2 separate regions of the Homo sapiens genome follow, and region 1 is linked to region 2. The links are contacts of gene promoters, found by promoter capture Hi-C in blood cells and fetal thymus (Javierre and others, 2016). All regions are on one chromosome and are shown on one strand. Each heading gives the region's core, a stretch centred on a gene start or on the middle of the fragment in contact. The rest is flanking DNA. Distances are from core to core; before and after follow the strand shown. Region 1 overlaps CHST12 (carbohydrate sulfotransferase 12). Region 2 holds the start of MAFK (MAF bZIP transcription factor K).

What was found. The method cuts DNA at HindIII sites, captures the fragments that hold promoters and counts their contacts. A CHiCAGO score of 5 or more calls a contact.
Region 1: a fragment that was not itself captured here is called in contact with the fragment with the promoter of MAFK in region 2 in 3 of 17 cell types (naive CD4 T cells, total CD8 T cells and naive CD8 T cells); the score reaches 6.2 in naive CD4 T cells.

What each region holds. Positions count from the first base shown.
Region 1 is chr7:2,404,838-2,409,876 of GRCh38, forward strand. All of the region lies in intron 1 of CHST12 (carbohydrate sulfotransferase 12), which reads left to right. Among named protein-coding and RNA genes, the nearest start is that of CHST12, 3.7 kb to the left of the region's middle. RefSeq lists enhancers at 1,171-1,290, 2,141-2,260, 3,898-3,957, 3,968-4,087. The HindIII fragment of the contact is 867 bases long and covers 1,941-2,807 here.
Region 2 is chr7:1,527,505-1,532,744 of GRCh38, forward strand. It overlaps MAFK (MAF bZIP transcription factor K), which reads left to right and starts at 3,198. Exons shown (of 3, transcript NM_002360.4): 1 at 3,198-3,394. It overlaps LOC100128653 (a long non-coding RNA gene), which reads right to left. Exons shown (of 1, transcript NR_149036.1): 1 at 4,949-5,240. RefSeq lists silencers at 3,028-3,297, 3,788-3,917 and an enhancer at 5,234-5,240. The HindIII fragment of the contact is 17,285 bases long and covers 1-5,240 here.

The DNA.
Region 1 (5,039 bases), core at 1,124-3,623, 880 kb after region 2:
TGACTCCAGCTTTATTATCAAACCTCCAATCGAGTGCAAGATGCTAAGCTGGGGTAGATGCCGGTAATAGCGTGGGCCTTGCCCTGGGAGCTCACGGCCAGCCTGGCTACAACTGTGTGGAGTTGAGACTGTGGTGCAGGCGTTAACAGAATGTGGCGACATTTTCCGACATTTTCCACAGTGGAGAGGACCTATGAATTGGGGCGTTTGGAGGCAAAGGGCATGCAGAGATGTGGAAGTGAAAGTGATGTTTGGGGGAGATGGTGGGTCGCCGTGTTCTTGATGAAGTGGGGTTTGAGGATTGGGTTGGAAGCTAAGACTGGAAGGCCGGGCGAGGTGGCTCGTGACTGTAATCCCAGCACTTTGGGAGGCAGAGGCGGGCGGATCACCTGAGGTCAGGAGTCCGAGACCAGCCTGGCCAACATGGTGAAACCCCATCTCTACTAAAAATACAAAATTTAGCTGGGCGTGGTGGTGCACACCTGAAGTCCCAGCTACTTAGGAGGATGAGTCAAGAGAATAGCTTGAACCTGGAGGCGGAAGTTGCAGTGAGCCGACACTGGGCCTCTGCACTCCAGCCTGGGCAACAGAGTAAAAAAAAGACTGGAAAGATGGGTTTCTGATTGTGCAGGGGCCTGAATGCTGTGTGAGGGAGTTTAAACTTTTATCCCTTTGGTGGTGGTTTGGGTGCGACGCGATTAGATGTGTTTCAGAAAAGTGGTCGTGGTGAGAATATGGGAGGTGGGTTTTGCCTCTGGGCAGTGGAGCTGAGTTGAGTAGCCTTGTGGGGCGTGGGTCTGGGGCAGTGAGAGAGTGGGGGCGGGCATGGAGCTGAAAGATGTTGCCAAATCCACTGGGCGGTGGCGCTTTGTGAGATGTGGCGACCTGTAACAGCGAGGGCAGCCGGGACTTCTCACCTGCGATGAGGAGCGCTGCGGCCAGGTGGGAGAGGAAGGGCCACACAAACACACGTGGGTTTTAGACCTGCAGAGTTGGCGGTATTGGTGGCCATCCTGGAGGAGATGTGACCTGGTGGAGAAGAGACAGCCTGTACAAGGAGGGAATCCCCAGGAACCCCAGTGGGAAGGGATCCAGAGCTGAAGAGAGGCCCGTTGGTTGGCTGACCTTGGGCGTGCAGTTCCTTGACTACGCACAGTCATTGAGGCTGGCAGGTGATTCTCTTCTAGTGTGGGTCAGGGGCTGAAGGAGCCATCAGTGGGAAAAGACGGGTTATTGATGATACTGAAACACATGCGGCTTGTTTGTCATTTAAAAAAACCGTACATCTTGAGTTTCGATTCTTAAGTTGTCTTTCTTTTCGGAGAGTAGCTGTTAGTTTCACACTTGCTTAGTGGGTCTGTGGCTGCAGGCGGGACTGTGGTTCTCCAGCCCTGGCCCACAGATGTGCCTGGAGATAATTGACTCTCCAACTTATTACTTCCTGCTGTTAAGGTGGTGGTTTCTGTAACTGTTTAGAAACTTTAAAGATATTTCAGAGAAGAATGGGAGACAGGTACAGTTGAGTACGGGGTGGGGGCACAGTTGAGTATGGGGTGGGGGCACAGTTGAGTACGGGGTGGGGGAACAGTTGAGTATGGGGTGGGGGCACAGTTGAGTACGGGGTGGGGGCACAGTTGAGTACGGGGTGGGGGCACAGTTGAGTACGGGGTGGGGGCGCGGTTGAGTATGGGGTGGGGGCGCAGTGCTGAACAGGGCACAGGAGGAGGAAGCGAACAGGGACCCTTTGGCTCCCAGAACATGACCAGCTGGGGCTTTTCCCTGTAGACAGGAGGATGGATGTGTCTTTGGGGAATCTGAGTAGCCCAAGAGAAAAGACCTAAAATTAATGACATCAGGAGGTCCCCAGTCAGCAGACCCAGCTGGATCCCTTGCTAACGAAGCCCGTCATTAATAACCCCCTCCCAGTGTTCAAGGCATCAAGCTTTAAAAATCCCCATCCCTTAAATATGAGCAGATAACCAAGGGCATCTGAAGAAAACCTCTGCTACAGGAGATTGAGACCAGAATACACACTGGGAAACCAGAGAGCGTGCAGGAAGGAGCCTTAGAAAGCAGGCTGTCATTAATGTCCACGCGGAGGTGAGCGAAAATATCGCGAACATGAGGCAAGAACAGGAAGCTCTAAAAAAAAGCCACCAAAAGGAGTATTCGAATATCCAAAAAGAGAACTCTCGGATGTAAAAAAAAAAAATAAAAGCAGAAATAAGAAAATCAGTTAGTGGGTGAAAGATAAAGTTGAGGAACTCCCTCAGAAAGTAGAACAGAAAAGCAACGAGGTGGCAAATGAGAGAAAAAAGAAACGGAAAGGATCAGATCAGGAAGTCAGCAGCTGAATAGTAAGAGCTTCAAAGCTGAGGTGAGAGGATCGTTTGAGGCCAGGAGTTCAAGACCAGCCTGGGCAACATAGCAAGACCCCCATCTCTACAACAAAATTTAAAAATTAGCCAGGTGTGGTGGTGTGCACCTGTAGTCCCAGCTACTTGGGAGGCTGAGGTGGGAGGATCACTTGAGCCCAGGAGTTTGAGGCTGCAGTGAGCTGTGATCATGCCACTGCCATCCAGCCTGGGTGACAGAGCAAGACCCCATCTCTAAAAAATAAAATAAAATACATTTTAAAAAGTTTCCAGAAGAAAAAAATAGGGAAAACAGGATGAAATTCACAAAATAATTTCCTAGAACCCAAACTTTCTGGGTTAAAGAGGCTCACCCAGTGGCCAGTACCACGGGTGAAAATGCAGGTATCCTTCACTTTCATAGCCTCTTCACTTCTCAGCTTGGATATTAAAAGCTTGGGAAGGCTGGGTGTGGTGGCTCATGCCTGTAATCCCAGCAATTTAGGAGGTAGGTGAATCACTGAGGTCAGGAGTTCGAGACCAGCCTGGCCATCATGATGAAACCCCATCTCTACTAAAAATACAAAAATTAGCCAAGCATGGTGGTGGGTGCCTGTAATCCCATACTCAGGAGGCTGAGGCAGGAGAATTGCTTGAACCCAGGAGGCGGGGGTTGCTGTGAGCCCAGATCGTGCCACTGCACTCCAGCCTGGGCAATAGAATGAGACTCCGTCTCAAAAATAAAATTTAAAAAATTAAAAGTCTGGGCAGCAAACTTGGATAGTGAGAGAGGCTGAGTTTCAGATAAAGACTAGTGAGAGCTTGGGAGGGGAAGGATTTATTTGAAAGCATGTCTGCAGCTGTTGACCCCAGAATTTGGATAGTGAGAGTTCAGAGGCCAGGCGCTGTGGCTCACGCCTGTAATCCCAGCACTTTGGGTGGCCGAGGTGGACGGATCACTTGAGGCCAGGAGTTTGAGACCAGCCTGGCCAACATAGTGAAACCCTGGCTAATACAAAAATTAGCCAGGTATGGTGGCAGGTGCCTGTAATCCCAGCTGCCCAGGAGGCTGAGACAGGAGAATTGCTTGAACCTGGGAGGCGGAGGTAACGGTAAGTGGAGATCATGCCATTGCACTCCAGCCCGGGCAACAAGGGTGAGACTCCGTCTCAAAAAAAAAAAAAAAAAAAAAAAAAAAAGATCCTTGCGTACCCTCTCCAGGACATACTGTTGTGAAATCTCAGAACAAGAGGAGAAAGTAAAAACAAATCACAAATAGGTCATCACAGGTCAAGAGGCAGAAGGTTAGAACATGTGGAAAAAGGCAGAAGAACTAACTACAATTAAAATGAAAAGAAGCAGAAGGGCTTGGGCTTTTTCAAAGCAGCACTGGGTGGCAGGAGACGGGAGGGCCTTGCTTGAGAAATTCTGAAGGATGCATTTGCAGCCTGGAAGTCTACACTCAGGCAAGGGAGGGTAGGGTAAAGACAACTTCAGACTTGCTCCCAGATTTGTTCCTCATGCTTTAAGGAGGTGATTGGCAGATGTAGTCTCCCCAGATGAGGCAGTAAGTCTAGACTGAGAGAGACTGGCTGGTGGGAACAGGATTTCCCCCAGGTGAGAGGTGAGAAGAACCTGCTGAAGGGAAATCCCAGCCAGGTGCTGGTGTGAAGAGCAGACATGTCCTGACCCCAGCTGGTCAGAGGCTCCAAGAGGAGATTCTTTGGGAGAAGATGAAATTAGCAGGACACCTGACATGCTGCAGCATCTGGAGAGGAGTTGATACAGTTGGCAGAGTTGGGGCGGGATTAGTGATAAGTACTAAACAAAGCAAATGAAAACACAAGGCTGTTATTAGTTCCAGGGAAAATAAACCATCGTGCGGGAAACGAAAAATAATTATGGTGTACTACAAGGCGCAGCTGTGGATAGCCTCGCCGCAATGATAGTAATTTATGTAAACACTGACTGCTGCTCTAATTGAAATTATGATGCACCTGGGCAGAGAAGGTGTGGGGAGGAGAGCGCTGCATTTTCGCCTGTCGCCTTGGGAAGTCAGTCGCTAATGCCCCAAGCTGAACAACCAAGGTTCACTCTGAAGGCAGACATTAAAAGAATTAGCTAAAAAGAATTATGGAGCGGGTAGGGCGTGGTGGTTCGCACCTGTAATCCCAGCACTTCAGGAGGCCGAGGCAGGAGGATTGCTTGAGTCCAGGAGTTCAAGACCAGCCTGGGCAACATGGCGAAACCCTGTCTCTACTGAAAATACAAAAATTAGCCAGACATGGTGGCCTGTGTCTGTCTCAGCTCCTTGGGAGGCTGAGGTGGGAGGATCACTTCACTTGAGCCCAGGAGGTGGAGATTTTAGTGAGCTGAGATCGAGCCATCACACTCCACTCTAGCCTGGGTGACAGAGCAAGATCCTGTCTCAAAGAAAAAAAAAAAAAAAGAATCATGGAGAAGGGCGGAGGTGAGAAAGGGAAGCAGGGACAGAGACTGTTGAGTTTCTTAATAAACTTCACCTCACGGAATGATTTCACTCTTTCATGGATATGTATGTGTGGCATTGAATTGACCCAAATGGGAACAGTCTCAGATGGGCTTTCTGCTCTGATGGAATGGCGGCCCTCGCCTGCCTCTGTGCACAGGCCCTGTTAACAGGGAGGGTTTCCTTGCTCTGATTTC
Region 2 (5,240 bases), core at 1,948-4,447:
GTGCAATCTCGGCTCACTGAAGCCTCCGCCTCCTGGGTTCAAGTGGTTCTCCTGCCTCAGGCTCCCGAGTAGCTGGGACTACAGGCGTGAGTCACCACATCTGGCTAATTTTGTATTTTTAGTAGACATGGGGTTTCTCCATGTTGGTCAGGATGCTCTTGAACTCCCGACCTCAGGTGATCTGCCCGTCTCAGCCTCCCAAAGTGCTGGGATTATAGGCATGCGCCACCACACTCAGCTAATTTTGTATTTTTAGTAGAGACAGGGTTTCTCCATGTTGGTCAGGCTGGTCTTGAACTCCTGACCTCAGGTGATCCACCCACCTTAGCTTCCCAAAGTGCTGGGATTACAGGCGTGAGCCAGCTTGCCCAGCCAGAACTTAACATTTTTTTACAAAAGGAACTACTAAATGATGAAAAATTTCTGGAGATGGATGATGGCAATGTTTGTACCACAACGTGAATGTACTTAACGCCACCGAACCGTACACTTAGAATGGTTAACTTGGCCTAGTGTGATGGCCACCATGCCCAGCCTATTCACCTAATCACACCTGTGATCTTAGCACTTTGGGAGGCTGAGGTAGGAGGATTGCTTGAGGCCAGGAGTTCAAGACCAACCTGACCAACGTAGCAAGACCCTATCTCTGAAAAAATATTTTTTTAACTTAAAAAAAATGGTTAAAATGGTAAATTCTATGTGATGTTTACTTTACCACAATAAAAAGTAAACTTTGGCTAGGCACAGTGGCTCATGCGTGTAATCCCAACACGTTGAGAGGACGAGGCGGGAGGATCACTTGAGCCCAGGAGTTCAAGACCAGCCTAGGCAACAGAGCAAGATCCTGTCTCTACAAAAAAAAACAAAGAAAATTAGCCAAGCGTGGTAGCACCAGCCCTTGGTCCCAGCTACTTAGGAGGCTGAGGTGGGAGGATCACTTGAACCTGGGAGGTGGAGGCTACAGGGAACTGTGATTGCACCAGTGAACTCCAGTTTGGGCGACAGTGAGATGTTGTCTCATAAAACAAACATAAATAAATAATTCAAAATTTTAAAAATTAGGCTGGATGCAGTGGCTCACGCCTGTAATCCCAGCACTTTGGGAGGCCAGGGCGGGTGGATCACCTGAGGTCAGGGGTTCGAGACCAGCCTGGCCAACATGGTGAAACCGTCTCTACGAAAAATACAAAAATCAGCCGGTGTGGTGGCGCACGCCTGTAATCCCAGCACTTTGGGAGGCCGAGGCAGGCAGATCACAAGGTCAAGAGATTGAGACCATCCTGGCTAACATGGTGAAACCCGTCTCTACTAAAAATACAAAAAAAAAAAAAATTAGCCGGGCGTGGTGGCAGGCATCTGTAGTCCCAGCTACTCAGGAGGCTGAGGCAGAAGAATTGTTTAAATCTGGGAGGCGGAGCTTGCAGTGATCCGAGATCGTGCTACTGCACTCCAGCCTGGCAACAGAGTGAGACTCCATCTCAAAACAGCAACAAGAACAAAAACAAAATTTAACCAGACGTGGTGGTGGGCACCTGTGATCCCAGCTACTCGAGGGGGCTGAGGCAGGAGAATCACTTGAACCTGGGAGGCGGAGGCTGCAGTGAGCCGAGATGGTGCCACTGCACTCCAGCCTGGACGACAGAGTGAGACTCCATCTCAGAAATAAATAAATACAAATTAAAAAATTAAAGAGATAATAAAAGTGTGTGATTAGTAACAAAAGCCTGCTATGGAAAGAATGCATTTGGGTTAGAGGAGCGACACCATGAGTAACGTAAAGAGTCCCGCGGAGATGGCCACAGCTTCTCTGGAGGCTCCCAGCGCATCCCAGGACCCCGAGTGCAGAGTGTGGGCCAGGACAAGGGAAGCACCTTTCCCATCCCCGGGGGATGTCTTTCTGCAAACATCCTGGGGACGTGGGACATTGTCGCTACTGCTGCTGTTGAGTTATTTCTTGGCACCTGTTTCTGCGGCCAGGTTGCAGGCATCACTGTGGCTAGCTGCCCCAGACGGCCGTGTGGGCCTTAGCAAGGAGGGGCCTCCCAGGTGGCCAGTGCAGAACCCGCAAGTGGGGGGGAGAGATGGCCCGGGAGGCTGCCCCCGCGCTCCACAGCAAGAGGCCACTGGGCTGCTGCCTAAATCCCCAGCCACATGGTGGTAAGGACGACACCCAGAAGATGCACAGACCTCCCTGCACTGGCTCCTGAGTCCCACCTGAGCCGAGAAAACAGGCTCCCGGGTCCCACCTGAGCTGAGAAAACAGGCTTCCCAGAACCCCGGGCAGATGCCATGGGTGTCCTGGGGGGCCCTCGGTTGCCCAGGCCTGAAACTCCTCTTCCTGCAGCGCTCAGAGGGGGGCGGGACTTGGGGACCCAGAAGCGTGGCAAGGGGCTCCAGACGGATCCCCTCTCCAGCCTGTCCTCCACCTGTGACAGGAAGCAGAGGCAGCTCCCTCAGGGGCCCGCCCCCACCTGAGGATCCCTCACAGGACTCCTTGGGCCAGTGGTGCCCTAACCCCATCCTGGGCCTGCTGTGTCCCCTGGCAACCACCAGCTGGGGCTTTAGAAGGGGGCTGGCCCCACCCACAGAGGCTGTGATCACTAGCCGCTTATCCCCATTTTTACATTGCTGGTTTGCTTGTTTTGTTTTTTTGAGACAGGGTCTCACCTTGTCACCCAGGCTAGAGTGCAGTGATGAAATCATGGCAGCCTCCACCTTCCAGGTTCAAGCCATCCTCCTGCCTCAGCCTCCTGAATATCTGGGGCCGCAGGCACATACCACCACGCCCGACTAATTTTTGTAATTTTTTTGTAGAGATGGGGGTCTCACTGTGTTGTCCAGGCTGGTCTGGAACTCCTGGGCTCAAGCGATCCTCCTGCTTTGGCCTCCCAAAGTGCTGGGATTACAGGCATGAGCCACCGTTCCCAGCTGGCCTTAATGTTTTTTATGTTTATAGAGACAGAGAATGGGGGAAGGGAGGTTTCGCTATGTTGCCCAGGCTGGTCTTGAACTCCCGGCCTCCAGAGATCTTCCCGCAGGGCCTCCCAAAGCGCGGGGATTGCAGGTGCGCGCGGGGCCAGCGGCCCCCCGGGCGGGAGAGGAGGGCGTGGCCGGGGGGCGTGGCCGCGGGGCGGGGAGGGGGCGTGGCCCGGGGGGCAGGGCGGTGTGACGCGCGCGCCGCGGATCCCGGAAGCGGTGTCAGATGCTGGGGAGCCGGGCGGGCGGGTGCGGTGGCGGCGGGCGGCGCGGGGGCACTTGTTGTTCTTCGCGAAGTCGGAGCCCGAGCGCCAGGCGGCGGCGGCGGCCGAGGGGAGCGCGACAGTGAGCGCCGGCGCGAGGACAGCGCGTGCCCGCGAGGAGCCGCCGCGCGCCCGCGCCCTCCGCGCGACGCCAGGTGAGGGGCGGTGGGGCAGCGGGGCCCGGGCCGCGGCGGGGACGGGGACCGGGGCGCGGGGCCGGGGCTACCTGGCCGCTGAGTCACGGCCGCCTGGGGGCGCGGGCCGAGGGTGGCGGGGTTGGGTGCGCGGGGCCCGAGACCCTCATGCGGCCCGCGGCGCGGCCCGGGCACCTGCCCAGGTGGGCCCCGCCCCGCAGGCCCGGGGGCTTCCCCGGGACGCGAGGCTCTCTCCCCTGCACGTGCCGCCCGGGCCATGCTTGCCGCGCCGGGGGCCCCAGGGCGCGGACCCCAGACCTGGGAGGACGAGGATCCACGCGGGTCGGCGGCGCGCATCGGGCCCGCGCCTTCACACCTGCGGGGGGCGGGGCGGGGCGGGCGCCACGTGCGGGCGGTGCGGGGAGGGCGCGGGCGCGTGGATTCTCCGCGGCTTCCGCCCCAGCGTGGCTTCCGCGTGCGGCCCCGGACTGCCCCCCGCGCTTCCTCCCGGTGACGGGCGGCGCTCTGGCCCAGTGGCTGGGGTCACGCGTGCCCGGGAACGGGGTGGGGGTAACCGGGTCTCCCCACAGGCGGGATCCTGGGACTGGTGTCGCTCTCAGCCGCCCACCTGCCAGGGTTGCTGGAAGGAAGGCCGTGGGGAGGCGGGAGGGGGGCAGGTGACAGTGGCCCCAAGGCTCGTCCCTTTGCTCACGTGTGGGGCAGGGGCTCCGGCCTCTTCCCGCTCCCACTGCGTGAGTTCTTCTGTGCCTCTGTCAAGTTCAGGAAACTGTGTATGTGCCCGTGACTGTGTGTGTCTGCGTCTGCACAGCCTCTAGATCCTGGGGGGTGGGACCAGGCGCCACCGAGAAACCCAGAAAGCCAGGACCCCGCCTGGCCTTGGCCCTTGACCTGGGTCCGCCTGGGACACAGCAGTGGCCCTGCACTGCATTCTCGCGCTCACACCGTGTGTGTCCGTGTTCGCGGGGCCTCCCGTGTCCCTCTCCTGGTGTCCTGCGTCCCTGAGCATGCTGTTTTCTTGCTTCTTAAGTAGCTCTTGTAGCTGAGGCAGAAATTAGATCCACTCACCATTCATTCACCAGGTGACCCACAGGCAGCCAGCCAATCTCTGGCCAGGTGCCTGGCCTTGGGAAGATCCTGAGACTCAAAACGCCCCCCACCGCCCCCCATCGTGGTCTAGGGGATATCTGTGTGGTTCGGCTCTGGCAGCGCCCTTCCCACCCCTCTGATTCTCCAGGGTGGGCTGCCAGGTCTCTTTACTGGCACTGAGGTTTCACCGTCACGGTGTGTTGTTGTAAGGGGTTCTCCAACACAGAGTGGGGTGCCCTATGCAGCTTCTCCAAACCCAATGTCTTCAGGGACATGGAGCATTAAAAGAGCCGTGGGCGGGGTCTGGAGAACATAGGTGGGCTGTGCAGGTGTCTGGGACACACCTACACCCTATTTGGGCGTCCAGTGCCATTTATGAGAACATCTCCCTTTCTTAGGTAACCCAGTAGGAATGTCTGAGTTTGACCTTGGGAGAGGGAGTCTGCTTTTAAAACTAGACCTCTCATTATTCCAAAATAAGACATTTATTAAAGCAGAAAAACCAGGCTTCTCCTGCCTTTTATCCTTGAACCGAGCCAGGGCTTTGAGGGGCTGGTTGCCCGCAGCGTCGACTCCCCAGGTGCTGGTAAACCCGGGAGCCAGCGTTTACCGAGGGTCAGGGTTGTCGGGGCGCCAGCCTTTGTGTGCACCCGGGAGGCTGCTGTTAAGGGAGACCGTCTTCCGGGCCACTTCGCTGTCTACAAGGCGTGTGCTTTCACCCACGGGGCTCAGCGATGGCTGCGTTTGTTTACAGTCTCTG